Regions from separate parts of the Homo sapiens genome. Here region 2 is linked to region 1. Evidence: promoter capture Hi-C in human tissues and cell types (Jung and others, 2019). All regions are on one chromosome and are shown on one strand. Each heading gives the region's core, a stretch centred on a gene start or on the middle of the fragment in contact. The rest is flanking DNA. Distances are from core to core; before and after follow the strand shown. Region 1 holds the start of CSMD2 (CUB and Sushi multiple domains 2). Region 2 overlaps CSMD2 (CUB and Sushi multiple domains 2).

The links. Contacts are between HindIII fragments. The study calls those that stand out against the background at their distance.
Region 2: a contact is called between a fragment that was not itself captured here and the fragment with the promoter of CSMD2 in region 1, in 1 of the 25 tissues and cell types used here (dorsolateral prefrontal cortex).

Annotation. Positions count from the first base shown.
Region 1 is chr1:34,162,444-34,168,247 of GRCh38, reverse strand. It overlaps CSMD2 (CUB and Sushi multiple domains 2), which reads left to right and starts at 3,018. Exons shown (of 71, transcript NM_001281956.2): 1 at 3,018-3,337. The coding sequence starts at 3,151. It also overlaps a transcript of C1orf94 not described here. RefSeq lists enhancers at 4,508-4,567, 4,988-5,117. The HindIII fragment of the contact is 8,389 bases long and covers 1-5,804 here.
Region 2 is chr1:33,871,320-33,877,123 of GRCh38, reverse strand. The region is part of intron 5 of CSMD2 (CUB and Sushi multiple domains 2); the gene reads left to right. It overlaps CSMD2-AS1 (CSMD2 antisense RNA 1), which reads right to left. Exons shown (of 8, transcript NR_038372.1): 4 at 1,532-1,658. Among named protein-coding and RNA genes, the nearest start is that of CSMD2-AS1, 5.3 kb to the right of the region's middle. The HindIII fragment of the contact is 6,085 bases long and covers 199-5,804 here.

The DNA.
Region 1 (5,804 bases), core at 1,769-4,268:
GGAGTGCAGTGGTGTGATCATGGCTCACTGCAGCCTTGAACAGCTGGGCTCAAATGATCCTCTGGCTTTAGCCTCCTGAGCATCTTGCTTAATTTTAGATCCCATCTTCCACCGTTGCCATCTCAGAGAGGCCTTCTCAGACCATCTCCTTAAAGCACATCCCCATATTGTTTCTCCTAGCACCATAAACTTTCCTTTTGTAGCATCCTTAATTAGTAACTTTATGTGTATTTGTATACATATTTTCTGCCTTCATCAAGTCAGGGACTGTGCACTAGGTGTATATTCATTGTCTAGCACAGCACCCAGGCACATAATGATGCTCAATAAATATTTGTTGAGTAAATGAATCTTCATCTTTTCAAGGTCTTTATCCATGTCTCAGGTTCCAGACCAAATCCTACTTTCCTTCTTAAATTAGCCTTCTGATCCCCCAAGTCCAGGAAAAGCTCACTGTCTTGACATGCCTCTCGGTAGCATGCCGGTTCTTCAGTCATGGTGATTATCGCTGTCTGACGGTATCAGTTACGTGTGGGTTTCCACCTCTGGCCTGCATCCTCCCAAAGCAGGACCACACACTGTGCATCTCTGCAGGGCCCAGAGCACAGCCTCGCTCAGGGCCCCCGAGCACAGGAGGCGCTCAGTGAAAGCACGTGGACCCAAATAGATCAGAGAGCAGGAATGGCGGAGGATGTGAGTAACTGGGCCTTTTGCAGGGATAAAATAGGTGCCCTGCCCTCCACAGCCCCCAGGGAGAAGGATGACAAACGCTCCTTTTGCCCGGGAAAGTTCTGGGGGTAAATCTCATCTGCCCGTTGCAGCCACAGAGCAAAGTTCTGGAGCTGAGAAGAGGGTAAGAGAAAGCCCATTGGCCTGCAGCCCCAGAATTACAGAGCAGCCCAGACTCTCTTCTGCCCAGCTGTGGGCTGCACAGGAGGCCTGGGCATCTCTGCCAGTTCCTTTCTCTGGAGGAGAACCCCGCCTCCAAGAGAGGGGTAAAGTCGGAGCTTAGAAGCCAGGAGCCCACCCCCAGGCAAGCCCAGCTAACAGCCCCCAAGGCCACCACCACCACTCACTGCTGGCGTAGTCAGTCCCTTCCTCCTCTCCAGGGCTGGTGGGAAGGCTGAGCCCTCTCTTTCGGGGGCTGAGTCTGGACAATGGGAAGGGAGAAGCCCCCTCCTCACTGCCCCGGGAACATAAAGCAGGCCTTTCACTGAGGAGTTCTGGCTGCTTCGGTTGGTTCTTGGCACCCAGCAAGGCGGCGTCGGGAGGGGCGGGCATACAAGCGTGTTGGGGGTGGGGACCAGGCCCGCGATTCTGAGGAGATTCGCCCGCCCAGGGCCACCGGGCTGGCTCCCCAGCTGTGGGATGAGCTCATGCAGGGAAACCGGAACAACTTGGGGTGGGGGGAGGGAGGAAGAGTGGCATCTAGGAGGCTGCGAAAGCGTGGCTCTGGGGAGGAAGTTTTTCATGGGGAGTAGGGACAAGCCTCCACTCCTCCAGCCCTGCCCCCGCCCCCCAATTCATATCGTCAACTCCACAGCCCCTCTTCACACCCTTCCTTGGATGGAAATTCCTGGCCACGCTGACAGCCGGCCAACCTGGGTCGCCAGCCACCCCCAGCCTGGCTCGCCATCCCTACAGTCCCTCTCCACACCCTTCCCCGGAAATTCTCAGGCCCCACCGCCCGCCGGCCACTGCCCCCTTGGCCACACAGATGCCAACGCTCCGTTTTGGCCAAATCAGGCTGCCCTAAGCCCGGAGCACAGCTTCTCTGGGGTGTGTCGGCAAAGGGGGCGGGGGTGCCCATCGCAGGTGCCTTTCCACTGCACGCGCCAGCAGAAGCCTCCTCTCTGGACCTTGCCCCTCCCAGTTTCCTCCAGCCTCCCCCCATGAAGCGTCTCTTCCCTCTCGCCGAGAGTTTGGCGTAGACAGCGAAGGAGCCATCGTGACTGGCGGAGAAGCCTGGAGTAGACGAGACAGAGACGGCGACCGAGTCGGGTGGGGGATGGGGTGGGGACCGACACTAAGCCCTTGGGGCCTAGAGGCAGCCGCTACTGGGGAGAGGTGGGGAGCAGCTCACGTCCTTGGGAAGAACTCTCTTGGTTTGGGGCCTTGGCTGGGAGGAGGAAGGGGAGAAGAAGAAGTAGGATCCGATTATTTAAATTTGGGGATAAATTGTACTAGTAACTCTTGCACCGTCCTTCCACCAACCTCACTCCCCACCCCCAACTCGCGTGCACACAGGGACCGCCTCTGCCACCCTGAGATTTTTGTCTTAGGGTAGGAGTGGGACCGCACTGGGTCAAATGAACCGGTTCCCCCCCCTCCCCACCCCACACACAACCCCCCTCCACCGCCCTCCAATTCTTAACCCTGCCTCTGTCTACGCACACACGCCCCTCTCCTGGGATGGGGTAGGAGGCTATTGTGAATGAGGCTCATAAGCATCGCCCCCGGCCCTAGATGGCAAGTTCAAAGCCACCACCCAAGATCAGCTGGTAAGAGCCAAGACTTGGGGAACGCGTCCTTCTTTGGTTACCTTTTCCCAGACAGGATTCCAATTTCCAAACGTGGAAGAGGTGTGCGTGTATGTGCCTGTGTGTGTGAGTGCGTGTGTCTCTGTCACTGTGTGTGTGTGTGTGTGTTTGTGTGTGTGTGTGTGGAGAGGGGGGTGTATTAATGGGTGATGTTATAAATGAAAACAGGAGGACTGAACTTAAAAGAAACTGGTCAATTGCAAAACAGACACGGATAAACAACCCTTTAGATGTAATTTGTGGTTTATCTGGAGGTGGAGGTGGCGCTGAAGAGGAACCCCCGCCCCCCAATATTTTATCCTTAGCTGCGCCTCCACCCCCAGCATTTGGAGCGGCGGAGAAGCGGCTCCGGAGTGATTAATCCGGGGATAATTCACCCCCTCCCGCCCCCCGGCGCGAACCCCGCGAAGCGGGATTGGAGCGAGTCATTTCCGAGAGCGCAGCGCGCCTCTCCCCGGCCGGGCGGACACTTGGTTCATTCCAGCCGCAGAAGCTCAGGGCTCCCGCGTACCGGGATTTTTTCCGAGCAGAAAAAAGCTCCAGAGCTCTCCTGACCTCCTTTCTCCTCGGCGGCGAGCGGAGCCTCTCCCTCGGCGCTGCCGGCCGCGCCATGCCGCGCTCGCGGGGACGGGAGCTGGGGCGCTGCGGCTGCCCCGCGGGGAGGGCTCGCGGCGAAACCGGGATTTCGGCGCTTGTGCCGGGCGCCGGGAGCCGCTGGGGCCGCCCGCCGCCGCCAACGCCGCCGCCTCTGCTGCTGTTGCTGGGCTGTGGGTTGCTCAGCGTCTCGGCCGCCGCGGGTGAGTCCAGCCGCGCCGAGGAGCCAGCGGCCGCCGCGCGCCCCACCCGAGCCCCGAGCCCACCCATCCTCGACCCGGTCCCAGTCCCTCCCCCCGCCTCTATCCCTGCCTGAATCTCCCACCCTCCCAGTTGCCTACTCTCATTCTCATCCCTGCCTCCGTCTCCCACCCCACCCTCAGCCACGTCCTCACCTCCACCCTCACCCTCACTGCTGCCCCAACCCCAGCCGCAACTTGGACGGATGCGGCCGGTGTGGGGGCCTGGGAGACAGACATCCCCGCCCGGGGTTGCGGGGCACCTGGTCTGTGGCTTCAGTTTCTCCAGCCTCCCAGCCCCCACGGTGCTAGGCTTTTTCCCGATAAACTTTCCGGGAGCCCTACTCCCCCGGCTCCTGATTCTGCCAGGCACGCTGGTCCTGGGGGCTGGAGAGGAACCGTGCGCCCCCTCCCCATTTCTGCGTCTGCAAGGTCTGCCCTTCCCTGCCCCCGCCCATTTTCTCCAATTGAAACCGGTGCCCCCTCTGGAACCGACTGCAGACTGCGGCCGCCATCCCCCTCCTCAAATGCTACCCCTCCCTCGGCGCTCGGAGCTAGGAGGGGGTTCAGGTGGACGCGTGCCCACGGTGGGGGTCCCGCGCATTCCTTGCAGGAGGGTGCAGGTGGGGGCTGGAGGGTGTTGAGGGATGGGAAGGAGGGGGTGGGGGTTGTAGCCCGAGGCGGGGGAGGGAGTGCCGCCGCCAGGCTTCGCGCTGCCACATTCCCCTCGGTGCTCACTCCGCGCCAAAGTGCCCTTTCCCGCGCCCTGCTGCAGCCGAGCGCCTCGGCTGCGGCAGCGGCAGCGGCGGCGCGGGCGGCGGGACCAGCTCCCGACGACCGAGTCCGGGAAGGGGCAGATCTAGCGGGTGCGGAGAGTCCCGGAACTTCGCGGGTGTCTGGCTGCAGCTTGCAGCGCGCGGGGGAGGTACGCGAACCTTCGAGGGAACCCGGTCCCCTGTGGAGGCTACTGGCCGCGACTGGTGCCCTCCCGCTTTACCCACAGCACCCCTCCGAAGCTCAGTTCTAGCTACAAGCTAGAAAGTTCCGTGTGCCCGGGTGGAGACGGGTCCAAACCGGGATGCCTGGAACCGCATTTTCATTTAGCCCGCGAGGCTGACACCCACTGGGGGAGAAACCGAAACACCTGCTGGCCAGGCCTAGACCTAGGGCACCTTCGACCTGGAGCCGTGTTTTCTTTTTTGTTTTTGTTTTTGTTTTGTTTTGTTTTGTTTTGAAACCACCGATTGAACCTCTGAAGGCTTGGCCTGGACCACCCCAGTTCCCCTTCTTGGGAAAGTGCGCCTCTCCTCTGGCAGGTCAGTGAGTGGCGAGCTCTCTGGCCCACTCTGGCCTTCAGCGTCTTGTGAGTCTGTCCTCGCAGACCGTGTCGCCCACCGCTTAACCGCGGCATGTTGGGGTTCTTGGTCAGGGAGGGCGCCCCGAGCCAGCTCTGGCTCTCTCATTCCTAGCTGACGGGACTTTCTTAGGTTCTGCTAAGAGTCATAGCCACCGACACCCAGAGAGGGGCGCCCGCGGTGCGCGCGCCTGGGAGCTCTGGCCTCTCGCACACCCACACCCACTGGGAGGCTGTGCATACCGACGCTGCTGGTCACCCAGACTTGCCACATGGGCGGTGGGGGAATCGCTGCTACCTCCCGCCAGGCCTCCCGGACGTACGTTGAGGCGAGGCCGGTCTCTGGCTTAGCTGATTGGAGAATGTCTCGGCATCGGACTGAATTGTTTTTCTGGCTAGATTTGTCCCTGCCCCTTGGGCATATCCTGCCCCTAGGGGAGAGAAAAAGGCCGACTCACCGGCGCTTGCACCGCTCAGCGGTGCTGGAATCCTGCCCTATAGAGATCCATTTGCTCGCAGCTCCTTGCTCAGTAGAGAAGTTGCGGGGAGGGGGCCTTGTGTTCATGGCTTGGGGTAGTTCCTCTCCGGCAGGCCCTGCTCTGGCTTGCAAGCTTCCAGTACATTTCTTTTCTTTTCTTCTCTTTCTTTTTAAATTTTTTTTAAGACGGAGTTTTGCTCTTCTCGCCCAGGCTGGAGTGCAATGGCGCGGTCTCAGCTCACTGCAACCTCCGCCTCCTGGGTTCAAGCGATTCTCCTGCCTCAGTCTTCCGAGTAGCTGGGATTACAGGCGACCGTCACCACGCCCGGTTAATTTTTGTATTTTTAGGAGAGATGGGGTTTCACCATGTTGGCCAGGCTGGTCTCGAGCTCCTGACTTCAGGTGATCCGCCTGCCTCTGCCTCCCAAAGTGCTGGGCTTACAGATGTGAGCCACCGCGCCCAGCCCAGTACATTTCTTTTTAAGCCTTTCCCGCCTTTAGATGGGCTGTTTGGCCTTGCAGGCAGCAGAGATTTGGAAATGGACTTGGTGACAGAAGATCGGCAGGATTTGGTACATTAGAAGGGGAAACACATTCAT
Region 2 (5,804 bases), core at 1,992-4,491, 290 kb after region 1:
ATTTGCCTTCTGCCCACACATCGATCTTGCCAAAAGAGGGCTTGTGCTGCAGCATTGAGTCATTCTCCTACCCTCTTTAGTTTATACTCATTTTTCAGGGTTTTCTCTGACTCTACTACTTACTGAAAGGTGTAGAAATACTAATAAGGCAATACTATGTTTTATTTGATCTATAGACTGCAGCAACCTGAATCTATATTATCTGTCATGCCAAGAATGTTTTGACCTTCTAAAAGGAAATGAATGCTCTCCGGACCAGAGCCAAGCAAGCAGCTTAGACCCATTCACAAGCAAAAGTCTGGGGCCTTGAGAGTTCCAGGGCATTAAATCACCATCAGAATAAGACTAGGGTCTTGAAGCTCATGATCTGGAGCACTTAGAGTGGACAAGGAGCAATGACCCCACAGCTACTATGACACATGGTAGAGTGTGGGTGCTGCAGCCAGGATGCCTGAGTTCTGCTACTTGATAGCTGTGTGACCTCAAGCAAGTCGCCTAACCTCTCTGTGTCTCCATCTTCTCACCTGCAAGCCACAGGTTATAAAGGGTTGCTGTAATAGATGAGTAAATACATGCGAGGGACTTAGAACAGTGCCTGGCGTTCAGTAAATACTCAGGGCAGCATCTGTGTCCCAAGTGGTACGTAAGTTCTTTATGCCATGTCTTCTCATTCTATTCCCATATGACCCTGAGAAACAGCTTTTGGTGTTGCCATTATACATAAGAATAAAGTGAATTTCTCATGTTCGACAAATTGCCCAGGGCCACATGGCTAGTAAGTAGCAATGACAGATTCCCAAGGTAGAGATCTCTGACTACAAATCCTGTGTTCTATCTCTTGACCAGTTCCCCTCATGGTCAGGCTGGCTTCCCGTAATTACAAACTCTCCCCTTTAGTTCCCTCTGTTGTCTCTTGATGCTCACTTGACTTTCAGGGACTCTGGAATCTCTGCTGCTTCCCAGCTGTGAGACAACTAAGACCAGGCAATCTGTCTTTGCCTCAATTTCTTTATTTCTGTAAACTGGCATAGTAACAGGGCCTGCTGAGAAGGAGAACAGCAGCCCCTGATGGCTGCAAGCTGGCCTGGCACTATCAGTAAGGCCTTTTGCTGCCGAGAGCTGGCCTGGCACCTACACCTAGACCTTGGGGTTCTCCTGTTGACCATAAACAATTTCACTGAATGTCAATGCCGGACAAAACCACTCTAGGACCCTGATAGATGAAGACAAAAACAAGACCATTTCAACATCATGAATTCAGACAAAAACAAGAACATTATTCAAAATACAAAGATGACTTAACAGCCCCCCTCCCTCCACCTCTTGGCTGATGTGAGTGATGGCTGCTTCTTTACCAATTACAACTCTTATCTTCCTTCATTCCTCCTGCCTTGTAAATAAAATTTATGAAGTACCCAACCAGAGAATTACACCTACCTCCAGTCTCCAATCCAGGGCAAAGCTCTGCTTCCTTGAACCCTCCCCCAATTAACTAACACAAGCCCGAATCCTACAGTGAATTATTTCTTACCTTCTTACTGAGACACTGCACAGCTCCCTGTGGTGTGCATTCTCCCTCACTGCCACCAGTCAGCAAACCCAACTTTGTTCAACTACAGGGAGGTCCATGGTGGTCATTGGCCGGGGGCTGACACTGCCTCTAGAATTATACGTGATGATATCTGGAGAACACTTAGAAATAGGGCTTAGTCCATAGTAAACGCCCAAAACATGTCAGTCATGAGCATGACATTTATTATAAGAAATACCCTTCCTCTTTGGACAGAGCTAAGGAGCATACATTTGCTCTCACTAACCAGCCCCCTTCTTTTCTGAAGTCCATGCAGTTCCCCCGCCCCTTATGTTTGCCCTGGGCACTGAAGCATTCTCTTTTTGCATTTCACAGATCTTCACACTGCAGACCTCAAACCTAGAAAAATCTGTTTTGCCCATGACATTGGAGGCTGTTGTCTGCCCTGTCTCTGGGATCCCAATGAAGGACATCCTCTCAGGGTATTTAGACAGCATAGAGGGGTGGGAGTGGGGGCTAGATGAGCAGTGGACTGATGATCAGGCCTTGGCGGCCCTTTCCCACTTCCTGGCAGAGTAGATACTTTGCACATGGAAGTTCCCTCACCCACTTGCCAGGGCTGTGCGGGCCAGAGGAGCCTGGCCAGATTCTTCATCACAAATGTACTCGCAGCTGCATCAGTGAGGGACAGCCCCAGGGACCACAGAGTTCTTCCATGCCCACTGCTGCTAATTAGAGATAATACATTAAAAATACAGAGCCGCATCTGTTCGTTGTAACATGGGTATCGAGGAATTTACGTGGTTTATAATGACAGAGTGTGGGGAGAGGAAAATGCTGATTCTGTCTGGGAGCCAGAGGCACAGCTGTGGGCGAAGAGCTGGAGGTGTGGTTTCTGGTGCCCATCAAACTCTCTGGGTGCTAACCAAGCCCTCCCTTTGAGACACCCAGGGATAGATCCAGGTACTTATCTGGAAATACCAAGCTAGGTAACATGACCAGTCAAGCACAAAGTGGATGTCCAGATGCCCAGGAGGCCTTCTGGCCCACATGCAAAATACATGTCCCTTCCACACACAAAATACAAATACTCTGGTATTTGCAAAGAGTTCTTGAGAGAAGGGAGACACAGGACAGAAGAAAAAACATGCTTCTCATGATTCAATTGTTCATTTTCCATCAAACATGAACTGAGCACCTAACCTGCTGTTCAAGTTGTCTGTAAAATGGGGTGTTTAAAGTACCGCTCTCATTGAATGTTTTTCTTAAGTAAAATAATTGCATTAAATGGCTTCAAACAGTACCCAAATCATCTAACACAAGCCCAAATCCTGCAATGAATTATTTCTTACCAGGTATGATGTAGGCATTCAATAAAAGTGTGCTATTATCATTCTACTCCATGTGACGCATTGTGTTAAATTTTAGAGCACTGTGATGAATAAGGCAAGATCCCTTCCCTTCTCTACCAGTTGAGGGGACAAACAGTTGCTATAATGTGCTGTGCATTGGGATGGCATTGTATGAACTTACATAAGCTATTATGGGAACACACAAGGGAGTTGGAGCATCAAAGACAGCTTCCTAGAGGAAGGGATACCTGACCTAAGTCTGTAGAACAGGTTGAAGTCTACCAGACCTAAAAGGTAGGAGAGATGAGAAGTATGTGCAAAGGCCCTGGGGAGGAGAGAGTGTAATGTTTCTGGGGAAAATGCAGTGTAGCCCGACCTTAGGGCAGGTGCGTTAGGTGTCTGTTGCTGTGTCACATATTACTCCAAAGCTTAGTGGTTTGAAACAACATTTATTAGCTCATATTTTCTCTGTGTTAGGAATGTAAGCGTAGCTTAATTGGGTTCTCTGGCTTAGGGTTTCTCATAAGGCTTCAATCAAGGTGTCCACTAGGGCGGCAGTCATCTCAAAGCTCAACTAGAGGGGAGGACAAGCTTCCAAGTTTCTTCACATAATTGTTTGCTGGATTCAGTTCCTCAGTGCTATTGACCAGAGACAGCCCTCAGTTCTTCTCCAAAGGGAAGCTTTCAACCCAGCTGCTTCATCAGAGCAAGCCAGAGAGTAGAGCCAGAGAGAGAGGATAAGACAGAAGTGACAGTCTTTTATAACCTGATATGAGAAGTGACATTCTATCACTTTTTCTGTATTCTATTCTTTAGAAGCAAATCACTAGGTCCAGCCCACACACAAAGGGAGGGGACTGCACAAGGACATGAATACCAGAAGAGAAAGAAATTTAGAGTCATTTCTGAAGCTGCCTATCACAATCTACCCTCTGGCTCTCCAATGATTCTTGTCCCTTCCACATGCAGAATACATGTCCCTTCCACACACAAAATGCAATCATCCTTCCCAAGGTCTCTAACATCTCCTCCCGTGGGAGCACCAACTGAAAGTCCAGGATCTCATCATCTAAATCAGGTGCAGGTGTGGATGAGGCTCTTGGGTATAATTCCTTAAGTACAAGTTCTAGAATACTGTTACTACAGATTTGGTGATTTGAAAAGCTAAGGAGATAAATTATCTGCCCCCCATATGCCCAACATACAATGGCAGGTTAGGTATAGAGGAATGGCTATAAACACTGCTACTCAAAGGGAGGAAAATGTGAGGAACAAAGGCGTCACTGGTCCGTAACAATTTTGAAATCCAGCCAGGAAAAGACTGCAAGTTTCTTGGTTAGGTTTCAAAGCCTGGGGATAATTCTCCATGACTCTTAGCTCCACCTTCTAAGCTCTTGGTTCTTCCCTCTGAGTAATCCTTCCTTTTTCATGAAAGGAAACCTGTGTTTAAAGCTGACTTGTTTTCTCAGCCTGTTTCCTGCTGAGAATTTTAGGGGTCCAATGGCCTCATTTTATTTTGTACTGTCTCTGTTCCTTTCTGTCCCAGCTGTGTTTCTTCTCATAGGTTTTCTCAGAAACCTTCTGGGTCTTCTGTAAATTGCACTGAGATTCCCTCTATTACACAAAAAAACAAACCCACAAATTTCTTTGAGAACTAAACTTTTCAACCTGAGCCTCTTGAAAAGATGGCCAAGGGACAGCCCCTTGGCTTCCTAGAGTCCCTATTGTTTGATCTGGAGGATCTATGAGGCCTACCCTAATCTCTTTAAAGGGCCTTTGTATGACTGAATAATACCATGATCTTTTGATCTTTCTGAAGTCTTAACCAAAGGCCCACAGTCACACCCACAGCTTTATCTCAGACCACCATTTCTTGCTCAAATGCCATTTCTTAATTTTAGCACCTTTTGCTGACTTGGGAGACTGAGAATTTTCAAAACTATCAGGTCCTGTCTCACTTTAACTTTTTTTTTTCTCTCTTCTCACATAAGCAGTAAGAAGAAATTATTTTCAACACTTTGCTTGGACATCTCCATAGCTAGATCACTAAGTTTATTAGGTACATATTTTGCTTTCCATGTAACTGCAGACAATAGTGGCACTAAGCTTTCTACCACTACCTAACAAGGATGTCCCTCCTCCATGATATGGTTTGCATGGGTCCCCCAAATGTCATGTGCTGGAAAGTTAATCCCCAATATGGTAGTGTTGAAAGGTGGGGACTTAAAGAGGTGATTGGATCATGAGAACCCTGTCTTCATGAATGGGTTAATCCATCCATGGATTAATGGGTTATCACAAGAGTGGGACTGGTGGCTTTATAAGAACAGGAAGAGGCCAGGCATGATGGCTCGTGCCGTAATCCCAGCACTTTGGGAGGCTGAGGCAGGTGGATCAGGAGTTCGAGCCCAGCCTGGCAAACACGGTGAAACCCCATCTCTATGAAAAATACGAAAATTAGCCAGATGTGGTGGCACACACCTGTAGTCCCAGCTACTTGTGAGGCTGAGACAGGAGAATCACTTGAACCCAGGAGGTGAGGGCTGTAGTGAGCCGAGATCACGCTACTACACTCCAGCCTGGGCAACAGAGCGAGACTCCATCTCAAAAACAAAACAAAAGAAGAGAGACCTGAGCAGGCACATCAACATGCTCAGTCCTCTCTGCAGACAGTCCTCACCAATAAGAAGGCTCTCACCAGATGCAGCCCTTTGACCTTGGACTCCTCAGCCTCTGTAACTGGTAACTGTCAAATAAATTTCTTTTCTTTACAAATTACCCAGCTTTAGATATTCTGTTACAGGCAATAGAAAATGGACAAAGACATTCTAGTTTCCAATAACATGTTCATCACTTCTTTTAAGCCCCCACCAGCTGTATCCTCAAAGTCCAGATTTCTACAGTGTCTTCAATTGTCTTTG